Regions from separate parts of the Homo sapiens genome. Here region 2 is linked to region 1. The links are contacts of gene promoters, found by promoter capture Hi-C in human tissues and cell types (Jung and others, 2019). All regions are on one chromosome and are shown on one strand. Each heading gives the region's core, a stretch centred on a gene start or on the middle of the fragment in contact. The rest is flanking DNA. Distances are from core to core; before and after follow the strand shown. Region 1 holds the start of CXCR4 (C-X-C motif chemokine receptor 4). Region 2 has its middle 45 kb from the start of CXCR4.

The links. The method cuts DNA at HindIII sites, captures the fragments that hold promoters and counts their contacts. A contact is called where the count stands out against the background at its distance.
Region 2: a fragment that was not itself captured here is called in contact with the fragment with the promoter of CXCR4 in region 1 in 2 of the 25 tissues and cell types used here (H1 embryonic stem cells and spleen).

The regions. Positions count from the first base shown.
Region 1 is chr2:136,115,851-136,120,851 of GRCh38, forward strand. It overlaps CXCR4 (C-X-C motif chemokine receptor 4), which reads right to left and starts at 2,299. Exons shown (of 2, transcript NM_003467.3): 1 at 2,196-2,299; 2 at 1-62. The coding sequence starts at 2,210. RefSeq lists a silencer at 921-1,090 and an enhancer at 1,221-1,290. The HindIII fragment of the contact is 8,205 bases long and covers 1-3,036 here.
Region 2 is chr2:136,070,441-136,075,441 of GRCh38, forward strand. No RefSeq gene overlaps it. Among named protein-coding and RNA genes, the nearest start is that of CXCR4, 45 kb to the right of the region's middle. The HindIII fragment of the contact is 5,764 bases long and covers 1-5,001 here.

The sequences.
Region 1 (5,001 bases), core at 1,049-3,548:
TCCTTCATGGAGTCATAGTCCCCTGAGCCCATTTCCTCGGTGTAGTTATCTGAAGTGTATATCTGCAAAAGAGGCAAAGGAATGGACATTCACTTCCAATTCAGCAAGCATTAACCCAGTTAAAAAAAATTTTTAAAGCAATTTAAAAAACCAATTCAGGCTTGCTTTCTTCAGGAAATTCTGAAGTAGTGGGCTAAGGGCACAAGAGAATTAATGTAGAATCCTACAACTCTCCTCCCCATCTTTTCCCATAGTGACTTCATTATATCCTTCTTTGGTAGAACCAATTACAAAATTCTTTGTTTAGAACAAAAGGGCACTGAGACGCTGAGGGTTTCAAAGTCACATCTTGGCTAACTCCTCTGCCCCGCCCACTAGAGGGAAGAAAAAAAACCTTCCTTAGGAGGAAAAAAAAAATACACACAAAGAGGCCACTCCCAGGCGGCGTGGGGGGTGGGGTGGGTGCTGCTAGGAGGGGCAGTGATTAACTTTTTGTAAGAAGTTTTTCGCCCAGGGAGGGAAGAGGGGAGAAGGGAGGATCACGGGGGGAGGGCGGGGGCGTTGCAAAGACTCATTCTCCTAAAGCGCAAAAACTTAATTTTCCCACGCCTGCCTAAATACAAACCATTCTGGGCTTCAAGCAACTTGTAGTGGGTAAAGAGAATGCGGTCTTAAAACGAAGGCCCTTCGGTGCTTGGGGTATATTGGGCGGGAGTGTCAGAAAATGAACAAACGGCACCTCCTCCCCCAAGCGGGCGCTCCTCCGGTGTGTGGGTCTCTTGCCATCCTCGTGTTTATCACTTGGCGCGTTTGGGACGTTAGGGAGCGGGGCATTTTCCTGGGTGGAGAAGGTAACGGGGTCTGCACCCGTGGTCCTCGCCCCAAGTTTCATTTCCTCACTCTCCCGGGTGGCTTCCCATTACCCCGCCACTGATCCAGTTAACCCGGCCGGAGGTGGGCAGCTGGAAGCCTCCAGGCGGTGGGCACGCGGGGGGCCGGGTCGTCCAGCCCCGGGCCGCCGCGGCTGCCCACTACACCCACGCCAACCGCCCGCAAGCAGCGCTGCAGGGGCTCCGCTGGGCGACACGCCAGGCTCTGTCCCACAGGGTGCTGGGGAGCGACTGGGCGGCTCCGCCGCGAGCGTCTTTGAATTGCGCGCCGCTGCAGGAAACCAAAAACTCCCTAGCAAGAGGGTTTCAAAAGGTTTCTGGAAACCACCGACGGTTAAACATCACAACTGGACTCGGAGAGAGCCAAACGGTTTCCCCACTTGCACCTGCCAGTCTTCGCGGCGGCGACCTGGCAGCCCAGGTGCGGTCTTAACCGCCCCCGCCCCTCACCCCGTACCCGCTCCTATCCCCGGAGCGCAAATCTCAGGGCTGGCAGCTGCGCGGTGTCAAAGGGGAGGTCAAACCACTCCGCTGACCTCTGCACGACCCCAAACTCTCGAACTGCAGGACCCACTCGCGGCCGTGGGGAAGAGGCGCGCTTCGGACGGCGGGAAGGTTTTCCCCCTCAAACCCAAAGCGCGCGGGCGGATCAACTCCTAGCTGCTGCCACCACTCGATCCCCTCAGAGGATCGGCGCGGTGGGTCCACCCGCCTCTCCCGCCCTCTGCCTACTGTGCTGGGAGACTGGCACAGCTCCGTCGGCCGCACAGAGTTTAACAAACACGCACCCAGTGTCAAGAACAGTCACCAGGCGCTTAACCCCGAAGTTAAAGCGGGCGCAATCTCCTCCTGGGAACTCAGCCCAGGCACGCCGCCCTCCGCCTCTAAATTCAGACAATGTAACTCGCTCCAAGACATCCCCGCTTCCCCAAGGAAGAGACCGGTGGTCTGAGTCCCGAGGCAGCGCGCACGCCTTCTCTGCACTTGTGCACAGAATGTTCTTACGTTTGCAAACAGCGTGCAAGCCGCCGCGCGCGGCGGGACTCAAGGGGGAGACACATGCAGCCACTGGAACGCTCTTTCCAGTCGTTTCTCCTCGACTCACAGAGAAAAAGATTCCAATCCTGCTCCCCCCCCACCCACCCGCACTATATAGGCATGGTCAAGAAAACTCCTTTCGGTGACCCTTTTTTGGAGTACGGGTACCTCCAATGTCCTGGCCGCTTCTGCCCGCTCGGAGAGGGGCTGCGCTCTAAGTTCAAACGTTTGTACATTTATGACAAAGCAGGTTGAAACTGGACTTACACTGATCCCCTCCATGGTAACCGCTGGTTCTCCAGATGCGGTGGCTACTGGAGCACTCAGGCCCTCGGCGTCACTTTGCTACCTGCTGCCGCAGCCAACAAACTGAAGTTTCTGGCCGCGGCCGGACTTTTATAAAAACACGCTCCGAGCGCGGCGCATGCGCCGCTGGGGCGGGGAGGGAGAAGGCGGGGTGGGGGAGAGGGGCAGACGCGAGGAAGGAGGGCGCAGGGGCGGGGCGGAGAGGTGCGCGGCTTGGGAAGCCCAGGGGACCCTGCTGTTTGCGGGTGGTCGGTAGTGAGTCCGGAGCCGGACAGGACCTCCCAGAGGCATTTCCTAAGTTTGAGGGAAGCGGGATGCGCCTGAAGACAGGTGGGAAGCGCGGGCTAGGAACGCGTCTCTCTGTGGCGCGTCCATCCTTGCTAAAGTGGATGGAATTCCAGACCTGGGAATGCTACAGTAGAGACACTGAGGCCCAGGGAAGGGGAGTGACTTGCTGGAGTAACCCAACCAGTAGGCGGCAATGCTGGAAGTAGGGCCAAGCTTCCAACGCCATTCCCCGCGCTTTCAGCAGACGCAGCCCATTCAGGAGGTAAAAGGAGTAAAGATCCTTCCTTCGGAGGATGTAGCTATACTTGCACATTCACAGCATCACTAGGGTCAGGTGCAGATAATTAGGAGATACTTTCAGAAGAAGGTAGGATTTGGCATAATTCTGGAGACTGATCAGATGTAGATATGTATTGCTCAGTAATTTCATAATAGCGGTAACCAATTCGCGAATAGTGCTTTATTATCCTAAAAGTATGCTTTATTATAAGAGTAATTTAGCGACCAGTACTTTTTGTAACAGATCACTAGGAACTTGCACAGAATCACTCATTCATTCTCACAACACCGTGTGGGTATTACCATCACAGAGATGCATTTAGTCCGATATTTATAGAAGGACGAACTGCGTGCCACGCACTGTTCTAGGCGTTGGGGATCCAGCGTGAACCAGACAAGGCCCGCATTCGGAGAAACCAGCAAATAAGCCCGGAGAGATGAAATGCCAGGGATGGGCAGGGATTCCAAGCCGGGCTTGAACCCAGGTCTTCGGTCCCCATACTCGGCGTCTTCCACGATTTTGAGCAGAGGACAAGCTTTGGCACGAATCAGAAATTAGGTTGAAGAACTGGGCGGGGCGGAGTGGGGGTGGGGGTCAGACGTTTAAAGCGATCTCAGACTGGCTGAGGTTTGCAGTGGGCGCGCAGACAGTGCTTTCCCCCTCGCGCCACTTCCCTCCGGCGCGGAGACTGGGTGGGGCGGGGGAGCGAGTGTGGGGCGGGGCCGAGAAACTGCGTCCGCAGGCGGGGTGGCCGCTGCGGAGATAGCTGGGACCGAGGCGCGTGCGTCGCGACACGGACCCCAGAGGCCCCCACCCCGAAATGGTCCCGAGGAGAGGGATTGCCCAGACTGCACTCTACACACGATCCCTCTTTTCTATATCAAAAGAGGAAACATTTCAGTCTGGAGTGTTCCAGAGGTAGTTCGGAGGCAGGGAACCTTTTCTCTACAGAGCATGACTTTCCCCCTTTGTCTGGGACCCCTCCCTAATGTTGGTGGTTAAAGGTTCTCATCTACTCTGCACTTTCACTGACACAGGAAAGATGATATCCGGGCCGGGAGATGGGACTCTCAGAAACGAACGAGTTAGGACACACACTAATGGCCAGATAAAATCAATTCTAATATTACATTTGTAGAATTAAAAAAAAAAAAAGAAACTCCAGGTTCTTGGAGGGTGGTGGCTGGAAGAGGTTTCGGAAGCTCCACGCCCCTTCTCACAGGCCTTGCATTACGTATCTCTTCATCTGTATCCTTTATAATATCCTTTATAATAAACGATAACGGTAAGAAATAAAAATGAAAATAAAACCGTAAAAACACTTTTACTTTTTTCGAATCTTTAATAAAACTTAAGGATCTTCATATTTTTATAGACACGGTAGATCCTATCTACTGAAGGTCTAGAATTTCAGAGCGTTTTCATGACTTGCTTTTCACAAAGCCTGGTAGTGGCAGAATCAGTATGTTTTATCCTGGACCGTAAGCTGCACCCTACCTCAAAACTCCTCCCTGCACGATGTCTAAAACCTGAAAGGTGAGATCTCCCAAATCTGTCCAAAAAGGGAAAGAGGAGAAAACTCGGAGCAAAATGGTTTGCATAATAAATATTTGTTGATTGTAGACAGACAAAAGAAAGCTCCTTCCTTTATCTGAAGACTCCTTTCAGATCTTTTTAGGGATCTCTACTAAAAGGAAGCAGATAATTAAAAGAACAATGAGATGCTATTTGGTGACTACCAAATTAGGCAAAAATCCATTTTTTTTCAAAGATAATATTTGGTCTCCGGATTTGAAAAGACCAGCTGTCTCTCGCTTGTCACTGATGGGAATGTGGCTTGGGACAGCCTCACTGGAAAGCATTTTCTATTCAGCAGGAACTTCAGAACAGTAACTCCACTCATAAAAACTTATGCCACAAAGGTATTTGTGGAAACATTTTTTTTTAAATAGTGAAATGTCTGAACATCCCTAAATAACCACTGTTAGTGGAATAGTTGACAAGATTTTGGTTCATCCACATCTGAAATTCCATATGGACATCGCGAATGTTATTTGTGAAGAATTTTTAGTGACATGGGGAAATACTTATGAAACATTAAGTGCAAAAGGCAGGATTCAGAATTGTGTATATAGTGTGATCTCAGTTATGTTAAAATATGCATTTGGAAAATATAGGGAGGAAAACCAAAATGTTTAT
Region 2 (5,001 bases), core at 1,286-3,785, 45 kb before region 1:
CAGGAGGCAGAGGTTGCGGTGAGCCAAGATTGTGCCACTGTACTCCATCCTGGGCAACAGAAGAAGACTCCATCTCAAAAAAAAAAATAGCTGTTATGTTATGCAAGCTGTTTGACACCTTTATGCCTCAACTACTTCATCCGCAAGATGGGGATAATAATGTGTGCTCTACTTACCTCGTAAGGTTGTGAGGACAAAACTAAAACTGTAAGATTGCTTTGAGGAGCTAAATGCATCATGGATAAGTGGTGCAATTCCTATGCAGACAGTATGATGGTTCCTCACAGGACCCAGCAATCCTATGAGGAACCATCAGCAATCCAGCAATCCGGCTTCTGGATTTATATCCAAAATAATCAAAATCAGAGTCTCAAAGAGATATTTGCATACCAACATTCATAGCAGCATTATTCACAATAGCCAAGAGGTGGGAGCAACCCAAGTTACCATCCACAAATGAATGGATAAACAAAATGTGATATACACATACAATGGAATATTATTCAGTCTTGAAGAGGAAGGAGACCCTGTCGCATGCTACAACTTGCGTGAACCTTAAGGACATTATTCTAAGTGAAATAAGCCAGGAACAAAAAGGCAACTACCATATGATTCCACTTATATGAGGTACCTAGAGTAGTCAAACTCAGAAACAGAAAGTAGAAAGGTGGTTACTGGGGACTGGAGGAGGGGAAAGGAGAGTTATTGTTTTAATGAGTATAGGGTTTCAGAAGACAAAAAAGTTCTAGAGATTTGTTTCACAACAATGTGAATATACTTGACGCTGCTGAACTTTACGCCCACCTAAAAAAGGTTAAGATGATAAATTTTATGTTAAATATTTTTTGTTTGTTTGTTTTACCACAATGAGAAAGAAAGCACGGTAGAAACAGAAGGTATCATTATCAAGTATAACCCAGAGGTTGGGAGAACAACAGGTGCATCTGTACATTTTCCAAGGTAGGCAAATTATATCAGTGGGTCCACTGTCCTGGGTTCCCCAAGGACACTTTTACTGAGGAACACATAAAGGAATAAAGCAGGGAAGTATTTAGAAAAGTATTTCTTAAAGTGGGAAATATACTAGCATTCCCTAAGGAATTAAAAAAAAACACAGGTCAGTGTTCTTGGCTGCAAATAACAGAAGCTACTCTGGTTAGCCATATTAGTCAGGATTCTCTAGAAAAACAGAACCAGTGGGATATATCTACATGTAGAAAGATATTTATTTGAAGGAATTGGCTCATAGGATTATGGAGGCTGACAAGATCAAAATCTGCAGAGTGGGCCTGTAGGCTGGAGACCCAGGGAAGAGTCAATGTGGAGGTTCAAGTCCAACAGCCATCAAGCTGAAGAACCAGGAAAGAGCTAATGCATTGTAACCTGCACAGACCTAGATGGACTGAACAAAGAGGGGCAAACATGGGAATAAAAGATAAGAGACAAAAGAGTATATTTGGAAGAGGGGTCAGGGGGCACCTTGCCTCTAGTGGACAAGGGCCCCGAGCTTTACACAGCCCTCCGTATTTATTAGGCAAAAGAGATAGTGAGAAGGAGAATGGAAGAAGGGGTCAGCTGCTCAATCCAGAGTAGGCTTGCAAGATTGTATTCCTCAAACAACAGGCTCTAGATATCACAGTAGATAGCCTCGGTGCCAGGGAGTGATTGCCTCCAGCAAAACTTCTGTTGGCTTCTGTTGGCAGGAGCAGTTGTGAGTTTGCTCACATCCTGCATTCATGATAAACAGTTTGCTGTTTGATCATATAGCCTCCAGTAGAATGCCAAGTTGGTCACGTCCCATGGGCCTTTGGCTCCCTGCATATCTCCCTTCCTGTTAATGAATTAATTGAAAGAATGTAAGGCCAGGCTGGGCAGCTCTCATTCTCCAATTGGCAGTCCATCCTCTTTTACCGACTATAAACAGAAGACAGAGACAAAACAACATTATTCCAAGAACCATACAAAAGATGTAAATGTGGTGCCTTAGATAGGTCCAAGGGTTGAGGCTCTCCAGGCCTTGCTGGAATTTGGTGCAGTCTTCTAAAGAAGGCTGAAACTCTTGAGTTGGGTTATTTAAATAAAGAATTTTGTTTTGTAATTCACCAATATCAAAGGTGATGTTGGATGTGAAAGTTCCCTGCAAATGGGCTTTCACAAGGTCCCACAGATACTCACTTTGGTTATATTCCAAGTTGGTTACACAAATATGAGTGTGATTAAAATGACAATGCAATTGCTGCTGCAATTGCAAGCTTTGTACTTGTTCCCCTAACCATAGAACTGTGGATTTTAACATTGCCACTTCAGTTTGTAACTCAGTGTTAATTTTACTCTGAAGTAGCCATGCTTGGTCGGCTGTGCATGTCCAGTTCTCCATGTACTGAGCTGTTTGAACAGAACTATGCAAAGCTGCAGAAGATATCACAACAGAAGTTATTAGTGTGATCAAGGAAACAATAGCAAAAATTATCATGCCTAAGGCTCTATGGACACAATGAGTAAGCTCAGTTAGAAGAAGTTTTGCAAAAGGCAAAGCAGGTGTAGCAGCCCAAGGCTCAGACGGATGAATAGGGATGCGACCTAAAATCATCAAAGGAGAGATGTTATGTGTTTGCAATGTGCTAAGATTAATGCAGTGATAGAACTGGCAAGACTTACAGATCAATTGGGTATTGTTTACCTGGAGCTGGTCCTTCTTAGCTGCTAGAAAGACATGAGGATTAAAAACACAAACTGTAAATTGAGTGGTGATATTCTTTACAAATGTAACATTGGAACTGTGTTGTGTCTTTGGTCGGCCTTCTCTCTGTCTTTGCACTCAAGCTCAGCTGACTCATGGCTCATACCAGAGGGACCAAGCCCATGGTTGGCCACCCTGGGTTCCTCCAGTCTCCCGTTCCATGCTGGCATGCACCTTGAGGGCACCCACACGGTTTATCCATCTCCTGTAAAAACACAAGCATATCCTCTTCCCCGTGTCAGTAAATCCACTGGACCTTTCCATTGTCCTTCTTGTGGGGATTTCCACAACACTTTTGGATTAACTTTCCTCTTTTCCTCTAACACTTGCCAATGTCTTTCTGCTGGAGTCTTACCATCCGTACCAGGAGTCCAAAAATTTAAAGTAAATAAGGCTAAATGTAGTTTTCATTGAGGTGGTAGTTGGCCTCCTATACCCCCTTTTTGTTTTTTCAACATGCATTGTAATGTTTGATGTGCCCGTTCTACAATGCCTCGTCCTCTAGGATTACAAGGAATTCCTGTTTTATGGGTTATAGCCCAAAGTTGTAAGAAATGTTGAAAAGCATGACTAGTATAAGTGGGTCCCCTGTCAGTTTTTAATTGTTTAGGTATTCCCATATAAGCAAATAATGACAGACAATGTCACCCTACGTGACCAGCTGTCTCACCACTTTGGCATGTAGCATGCAGCATATGAGAATAAGTGAAACAAATTAAGCAGTTCTGGGTCTAGTGTACTTTTAACTGCAGCAGTTTCTATGCAACTGGCTACATTTACAACATAAGCTGAATCACAGACAATGTTGATAGGATCTGAAGCTGTGAGCTGTAAAACCTGAATGCCAGCAGTTAGCTCTGAGCATTGAGTTGAAGCACCAGAGGTATCTAACTTCTCCTGTGTTAGAGGCCATTGATCCACCTGCACAGGTTTGTCACTAAACCATTCTAATAGTAAGGCAGTGGGTGGAGGAGAAATATCAATGACCCCCATCAGAAATCCTGACGTCCTAGCCCTTTTCTATCTGTTTTTCCAGTTACTGATATTGAGTTAGGATTTCTCTGAAGAAATTTTCCTAAACCTTTTCCCTTCTGATATCCCATGTTCTTCAACATTTTCAACCCTAGGTTGTCAAAGTTTTCATTTGTTAAGTCTCATATCCCATGCTGGAGGTAAGTCTCAACCCCATAAGTTGATGGCTATACTTGCAACATAAGGCTGAAAAATACATGACTGTCCATCCGGACCAAGACAAGATAAAATCTCAGTGCTCTGTTGAACACTTTGAGCTGTTCCTACTCCCACTAGGGATGTAGAAGCTAATTGCAAGGGCCAGGATGGGGGCCAATTATCTTTAGATATTACTGATACATCAGCTCCTGTATCCATAAGCCCATAAAATTTCTTTCCTTTAATTTGTACTACACAAGTTGGTGTATTAGAGGCTATGGGTTGGGATAGATAGATTTCCCTTGTAGTTGTGCTCCCAAGCCCTTTATTTCCTAATTTCTCCTTTCATGGAGAAGGGTGTAATTTGCAGGGAATAAGCAATAATTAAGCAATATATTCTCCCGGTTCAAAAACCCAAAGATCTTGTGACATTAAAACTATTTGAATTTATCCTTCATAATTGGAGTCATTCACTCCTGGGACTACAGTAGTGCCTTGCAAGTTAAGGCGGCTTTTGCCTAAAATTAGTCCCATATATCCTGCTTGTAAAGGTCCCCAAATGCCAGTGGGAAATTTGATAGGTTTGTCTCCACCAACTAACGTGATTCTTTCTCTGGCGGGTAGATCTAATCCTGCACTTCCTGGTGTTCCTGGGGTGAGGGAATCAATGTGCCTCCAGGAACCCATCCCCAAAACGGGGTTGAGGTCTGGACTGGGAATGCCTTCATTGTCTGTGGGGCCCGGGTCCAGGCCCCCGTCTCATTTCCTGGCACGGGGGTGCCATTCTGATGAATTTTGAGTGGCACTGATTAGCTCAGTGATTTCCTTTGTTATAGTGGGGACAAAGTCCTGGCGTTTTTTTCTGCTGGGGGGGGCACCGCATTGTAAGGTCCTTTCTGTCCTGAGATCTGGTGGCATTCCTTTTTAAAATGTCCAGTTTTTCCACAATCATAACATTTTCCCATTTTAGGATTTGACCCTTGGCTCCTTTTAGATTTGTCAACTGCTAAATTAGCCATTCCTTACACTAACATTGCAGAGCGATGAAGCTCATTTCCCACATCCTGACGAGCTCTGAGAAAATTTCCTAA